Regions from separate parts of the Homo sapiens genome. Here region 1 is linked to region 2. Evidence: promoter capture Hi-C in 16 types of primary human blood cells and fetal thymus (Javierre and others, 2016). All regions are on one chromosome and are shown on one strand. Each heading gives the region's core, a stretch centred on a gene start or on the middle of the fragment in contact. The rest is flanking DNA. Distances are from core to core; before and after follow the strand shown.

The links. The method cuts DNA at HindIII sites, captures the fragments that hold promoters and counts their contacts. A CHiCAGO score of 5 or more calls a contact.
Region 1: a fragment that was not itself captured here is called in contact with the fragment with the promoter of DNMBP-AS1 in region 2 in 2 of 17 cell types (naive B cells and total B cells); the score reaches 5.9 in naive B cells.

Annotation. Positions count from the first base shown.
Region 1 is chr10:100,029,956-100,033,419 of GRCh38, forward strand. No RefSeq gene overlaps it. Among named protein-coding and RNA genes, the nearest start is that of DNMBP, 22 kb to the left of the region's middle. The HindIII fragment of the contact is 1,340 bases long and covers 1,205-2,544 here.
Region 2 is chr10:99,925,250-99,929,046 of GRCh38, forward strand. DNMBP-AS1 (DNMBP antisense RNA 1) reads left to right here and starts at 1,956. Exons shown (of 5, transcript NR_024130.3): 1 at 1,956-2,050; 2 at 2,911-2,991. All of the region lies in intron 4 of DNMBP (dynamin binding protein), which reads right to left. The HindIII fragment of the contact is 7,506 bases long and covers 697-3,797 here.

The sequences.
Region 1 (3,464 bases), core at 625-3,124, 100 kb after region 2:
AAAAAAATTGGCTGGGCACAGTGGCTCACATCTATAATCCCAGCACTTTAGAAAGCCAGCACTTTGGGAGATGGGCAAATTGCTTGAGCCTAGGAGTTGAAGACAAGCCTGGGCAACATAGAGACTCTGACTCTATAAAAAACATACAAAAATATATTAGCTGGGCATGTGTGATGGTGCATGTCTCTAGTCCCAGCTACTTGGGAGGCTGAGATGGGAGGATTACCTGAGCCCAGGAGGTTGAGGCTGCAGTGAGCTGAGATAGCACCACTGCACTCCAGCCTGAGTGACAGAGTGAGAAGCTGTCTCAAAAAATAGATACACATATAAGATTAAGATTTCCTTGGTAAGGCCGGGTGTGGTCGTTCATGCCTGTAATCCCAGCACTTTAGGAGGCCGAGGCAGGCAGATCACGAGGTCAGGAGATTGAGACCAGCCTGGCCAACCTGGTGAAACCCTGTCTCTACTAAAAATACAAAAACTTAGCTGGGATTGGTGGCAGGTGCCTGTAGTCTCAGCTACTTGGGAGGCTGAGGCAGGAGAATTGCTTGAACCCAGGAGGTGGAGGTTGCAGTGAGCCGAGATCGTGCCATTGCACTCCAGCCTGGGCAACAAGAGCAAAACTCCGTCTCAAAAAAAAAAAAAAAAAAAAAAAAAAAGATTGCCTTGGTCAAAGTTATTGCAGACTGATGACAATCAGATCCATCTCTAGTGGAAAACATAAATTGAATCCTCATGAAATAGTCACTGAAAAGCCTATGCTCTTAATCATAGAACCCCATGTATCTTCTGCTCCTAAACTCTAAAATGGCTAAATGCTTTAACACTTTAATGCATTATGGCCGGGCGCAGTGGCTCACGCCTGTAATCCCAGCACTTTGGGAGGCCAGGGCGGGCGGATCACCTGAGGTCAGGAGTTTGAGACCAGCCTGGCCAGCATGGTGAAACCCCATCTCTACTAAAAATACACAAATTAGCCAGGCATGGTGGCAAGCACCTGTAATCCCAGCTACTCAGGAGGCTGAGGCAGGAGAATCGCTTGAACCTGGGAGGTGGAGGTTGTGGTGAGCTGATATCGTGCCACTGCACTCCAGCCTGGGTGACAGAGCAAGACTTCATCTGGAAAACAAACAAAAAAACCACAAACAAACAAAAAAAAACTTTAATGCATTATGCCAAAAGTGTGTTTTCATCAGGTTAAGAAAGCTTTTCATGGTCTACTCACTGATCAAACTCTTCACAACCTAGGACTAAAAGATGGGTTCTTCTGAGAACATTAGAGAAAGACTGCCCTTGTCACCCACATTGCAGCAAAACTTCTAAACCTTAAACTTTAGGTTCCTAATCTCACAACTCAGAAGGGTCCCTCCAGATTCTTAGAACTATCCCCCTTTGGGGACCTTAATGTAAATCTGGCTGGGCATGCTGGCTCATGCCTATAATCCCAGCACTTTGGGAGGCTGAGGTGGGAGGACTGCTTGAGCCCAGGAGTTCAAGACCAGCCTGAGCAACATAGTGGGACTCTGTCTCTACAAAAACTTTAAAAGGCCGGACGCGGTGGCTCACGCCTATAATCCCAGCACTTTGGGAGGCCGAGGCAGGTGGATCACGAGGTCAGGAAATCGAGACCATCCTGGCTAACACCGTGAAACCCCGTCTCTACTAAAAATACAAAAAATTGGCTGGGCGTGGTGGCGGGCGCCTATAGTCCCAGCTACTCAGGAGGCTGAGGCAGGAGTATGGCGTGAACCCGGGAGGTGGAGCTTGCAGTGGGCTGAGATTGCGCCACGGCACTCCAGCCTGGGCGACAGAGCGAGACTCCGTTTCAAAAAAAAAAACTTTAAAAAAGTAGCCAGGCATAGTGGCACGCTCCTGTAATCCCAGAACTTTGGGAGGCTGAGGCAGGCTAATACCTTGATCTCAGGAGTTCAAGACCACTCTGGTCAACATGGTGAAACCCTATCTCTACAAAAAATACAAAAATTAGCCAGGCACAATGGTACGCACCTGTAGTCCCAGCTACTCGGGAGGCTCAGATGGGAAGATTGCTGCAGCCCAGGAGTTCGAGGCTGCAGTGAGCTGGGATTGTGTCACTGCACACCAGCCTGAGCGACAGAGCAAATAAGACTCTGTTTCAAAAAAAAAAAAGAAAGAAAGAAAGAAAAGAAAAGAAAGAAAGAAATCTACCCAGGGAAGTTTCTCCCTATAAGCAGACAGCATCTTAGATGTAGACAGCTATTTCCCAGGATCACAGATCAAGACTCCTCTGGTATCATGAGACTGTTATCTCTCAGTTTTTTCCTTGCTTATGCCTCTATGAACAATAGAACTGAAAAAGAGGTATCTTGTGTGCACTCACAGGGTATACTTTTATTTGTACATGGACAAACTTATCTCTTGATACATGGAAGATAAGGAGGCAACATGGGCAAGAAATTTTAATACCCTTGTTGGTCCATAATCAGTCAGAAACAGAACATTGGACTTCTCTTAGGGGTTAAGAGAACACTTTTGTTTTTGTTTCCCTTCAGAATTCAATATGAAAGCTTAAAGCTGCCTTCTTACATATTTTAAGTTCAGCCTAAAGGTTTTTTTGTACATAGTGAACTGTAACCAAAATGTGTAAATGGGCTGTAACCTTACTGTTATACCAATCATTGAGTTTTGACCAATCAAAGGTGGGCAACTGTTTAAACTGTGTTCAAATAAGGCAAATATCAAACTATATACAATCCAGCTGCTTCTGTACGTCCACTTCTGCTTTATGTACATCACTTTCCTTTTTCTGTCCATAAAATTTAGACCACACAGCAGCGACAGAGTCTCCCTGAACTTATTCTGGTTTGGGTGCTACCTGGTTCACAAATCATTCTTTGCTCAATTAAAAATTGTTAAATTTAATCTAAGGTTTTTTTTTTTTTTTTGAAATAACAGAAAATGTAGGTTTTTCTTTTTCTTTTTTTTTTTTTCTTTGAGACACAGTCTCGTTCTATGGCCCAGGCTGGAGTGCAGTGGTGCGATCTCGGCTCACTGCAGCCTCTGCCTCCTGGGTTCAAGCAATTCTCATGCCTCAGCCTCCCTAGTAGCTGGGATTACAGGCATGAGGCACCACACCTGGCTAATTTTTGTATTTTTAGTAGAGATGGGGTTTCACCATGTTGGTCAGGCTGGTCTCGAACTCCTGACCTCATGATACACCCGCCTCAGCCTCCCAAAGTGTTGGGATTACAGGCGTGAGCCACCGCACCCAGCCGAGGTTTTTCTTAATTAAGAAAACTTTTTTTAATTGAGACGAGGTCTATGTTGCCCAGGTTGGTCTTGAACTCCTGAACTCAAGCAGTTCTCCTGACTCAGCCTCCCAAAGCACTGGAATTACAGGTGCGAGCCACTACACTTGACCTGTCTAAGGTTTTTCTTTTAATAGGTCACAATATCACACTGTGAATTCATTTCTGGGATCTTTA
Region 2 (3,797 bases), core at 706-3,205:
GCATTCTAGGTGTCAAGAGAGCCAGATTCTATTCCTGCCCTAATCCTTGACCCAGTTACCTTGGAAACACATTTCAATTTCTCTGAGCTCTATCTCTTCATTTATAAAATAAATGGGTTGTATTTAAGTGTTTTTCAAACATTTTTTACTGTGACCCACACTTTATTTTTTATTTTATTTTTTTGAGACACAGTTTCACTCTGTCGCCCAGGCTGGAGTGCAGTGGCACAATCTCAGCTCACTGCAACCTCCACCTCCTGGGTTCAAGCGATTCTCCCGCCTCAGCCTCCGGAGTAGCTGGGACTACAGGCGCCCACCAACATGCCCAGCTAATTTTTGTATTTTTGTACACAGGGGGTTTCACCATGTTGGCAAGGCTGGTCTCAAACTCCTGACCTCAAGTGATCTGCCCACCTCGGCCTCCCAAAGTGCTGGTATTTCAGGCGTGAGCCACTGTGCCTGGCCTGACCCACACTTTAGGCTGTAACTCACATTTACATAATACATTTATGTCTATACACATACACATACACAAAGTATTACATGCTTACTTTTACTACATAGAATGTAGTATGAAAGTTTTTTCTATTTACTTTTATTTTTCAGAACTGCTGATTGCAACCCCCAAACAGACTTCAAGACCCAGTCATGAGTGGCTACCCATTATTTACAAAAACATGGGATTGTGGCTATATAAGCTTCCTTCCAGTAATAACATAAGAGGCTCCTATTTTGTAGCCTTCCAACCCTGAACCTTTAGCCCTCTCTAGTTTTGTTTAGAGCCCTCTCTAGTTTCATAGTTTTCTCTGTAAGAGCTCTTCATTTAGATATCCTAATATTATTTACATGCAAAACAGGTAACGTGGAATTTGAAACACCAGGTCCCCTTCTCATCATAACCATGTATGTTATTAGCAAGTGCAAAACCCTAGTGCCCACACTTGGTCTAGTAATGGTAGAGTAGCTCACATTGTACTAATCTCCCTACTTATAACTACCAAAAACACTTTACAAGATTTATTTTTTTAACTTTTATTTACTTTTATTTTTCTAGAGATGTGGTCTCACTCTGTCACCCAGGCTGCAGTATAGTGGCATCATCATAGCTCACTATAGCCTCGACCTGCCAGGCTCAAGTGATCCTCCCACCTCAGCCTTCTGACAGATATTTTAAAAAATAACTATATGCAGGCACTGAAAAGCAATCAAAAGCAGGCAGAATTTGGAGGGGATATGACTCAAAACAAGGGAAGCAAACTAGGTAAGATGCACCTGTCTCCAGTCCTCCCCTCAGGGCACTCCCTAGTCTTTTAGGACGCCGGGAAATAAAGCAAAAGAAGAAAGCCCACATGGGGCAATCTTACTGGGCTGAGCAGCCAAAGGTTCCAGTCTGGGGGCTCTGAAGACATTAGCTATTAAGGGGGAAATCCTGGAAAACAGTAAGCCACAGAGAGGAGAGCCCCAAAATCTGTGCAGAAATGCCTCTCAATCCTTCAACTGTGCATGCAGGTGATGAGACTCCAAGGAACCCCGTGGAAAGCTGGAGGCCAGAAGAGCCCAGCAGATAGATCTTCACCAACTGTCTGGCTCTGGGAAGACACAGTTTGAAATTTGAGTCCCTCCAAGTTAGGAGGTTCAATAAACACTTCCAGTTTTCTGTTGAAACCTCCGAAGGGCCACACCTTAGGAATAAGGCCCACCTCTCAGAACTAGAGGTCCACACCCTAGGACTAAGAGCAAACCCCTAACAGACCTGCCCTAAAAAAACCTCAGATGGAGGCCTCAGGAGAATGACTGATCAGGCCGGTGAGAAAGGAAAGCCTGGGGGAAAACTTGGCTTCCTGCCTGGGGGAGAGGCTGGAGAGCAGCCACTGAACAGAGCTCTGTCTCAGATGGAGGAGGGGTGGCAAGGGGAAGACGGGAGAAGAGGAAGGGACAGGACATTCCACTTAGACAATCAAACTTGAAGTGTTTACGGTCTAGGGTAGATGTCCAACAGGGAGCAGGGACTATCAATCTGGAACTCAGAGACGAAACCATGGAGTGACAGGTGGGTGGCGCAACTTATAAAGGGGAAGGGAGGTGGGCAGATAAAACACAAAGAAATGGCCATTTATGAGCACCTACTATGTTCCGGATATGTGACTGTTTTATTTTTCTATCTCATTATGAGAGAGGTATTATCTTCACTTTACAAATTGAGAATCCGAAGCTCCAAGAGGTTAAGTAATTTTTGTCAAGTTAAGGCCATTTAGTAAATGGTGGAGCTGAGATTTGAACTCAGGGCAGACCAACTCTGATGCTTGTTCCTTTGTGTAATTACACAGTGTTCCCTTGTAATATTCAGGAAGGGCAATGGCGTGAGAGAGCTAACAAAGAACGTTAGAATGCTGAAAGATTTCTAGTAAAGACAGAATTTGTTATAGGTCAAGAAGGATATTAGGGGTACAAAAAGGGGTGAACTAAATATGAATATACTTTCAAAAGTTAAGTCCTCAAAGATAAAGAGAGTTGTAGAAATGGAAATGATATTGGGTGGAACCGAGCTGGTTTCAGGGAGATCAGAGGGCACATTACAACACTGCAGAGAGAAGGGTTTCACTCCTGTTAAGTCAAACAGAATAAACACACTTTGATTACAGTTGGGAGGCTTAATACAATAAGGAACTAAACATAGGAAACAAAGTTCACCAAAGGAACAGATGCGGGGGGAAGGGAAGAGGAACAATACAAAAACCAATATAAAGAATCACAGAATCAGACTTTTTTCTTTTTTAGCTGGAAGGAATTTAGAAGTTATCCAGTCCCTATCATTTCAGAGAGAAAATGCACCTAGGAAAAAATGACTAGCTGCTAAAAACCTCAGCCTCCCAACTAAAGCTGGGTTTGGTTTCATTTTTGTCTTTATAGGTGCAGGTTAAGAGCCTGTTAGGTCCAAAATGGTGCCCCAGAAATTCAAGTTAAGTCAAGCCCATGTTGGAAGACCACCAGGTAAACCACCGGCCATCCCAGGACCATAGCAGGCTTATCTTTTCAGTCTGTGGTGGCCCCTAGTACAAATCTAACCAGCCAGCCCATTCTGAAGGAGACCTAGACGAGAAACTTTCTACTTAAGGGGAGGGCATGAGATGGATTTTTCAGATCATTCACATTCTCTGACTAACCTTTATCCTCTGGTCACAGCCTGGACCCCAAAATTGGCCAGAACCAGAAAGGCCGTTTGGCATGAAGACAACATACAGCATACACACACACGAAAGGTTTAACAGAGAGTTCAGTAATTATAAAAATAACACAGTAGAAATAAAGCTCACTTATGAGAACTGAAGAAAAGATATAATGGCAAGAAAGAAAGAACCTCTACATGATAAAAGACTCCTAATATTCTCATTTCACAGACAACGTAGTTAAGGCTCAGTGAGATGAAGTGATTTGAAAGCTAGAAATAATCTTCTGGAATCCACAAGAGTGTCAGTACTCATCATTCACTTAAGATTCCTGAATGTCAAGGAGTGAACAATCTATAAAACAAATCAGGGCTACTCTGGGCACACTGCCTATGGGGTAGCCCTGCTCTGAAAGGAGCGGTAAAAAAAAAAAATTAAAATGAAGGCCTGGCAATGGTGGCTTACACTTGTAATCCCAGTACTTTGGGAAGCAGAGGTGGGTGGTTCGCTCAAGCCCAGGAGTTCAAGATCAGCCTGGGCAACATGGTGAAACCCTGCCCCTACAAAAAAATAAAAAAGTAGCCGGGCATGGTGGCATGTACCCATAGTCCCAGCTACTCAGGAGGCTAA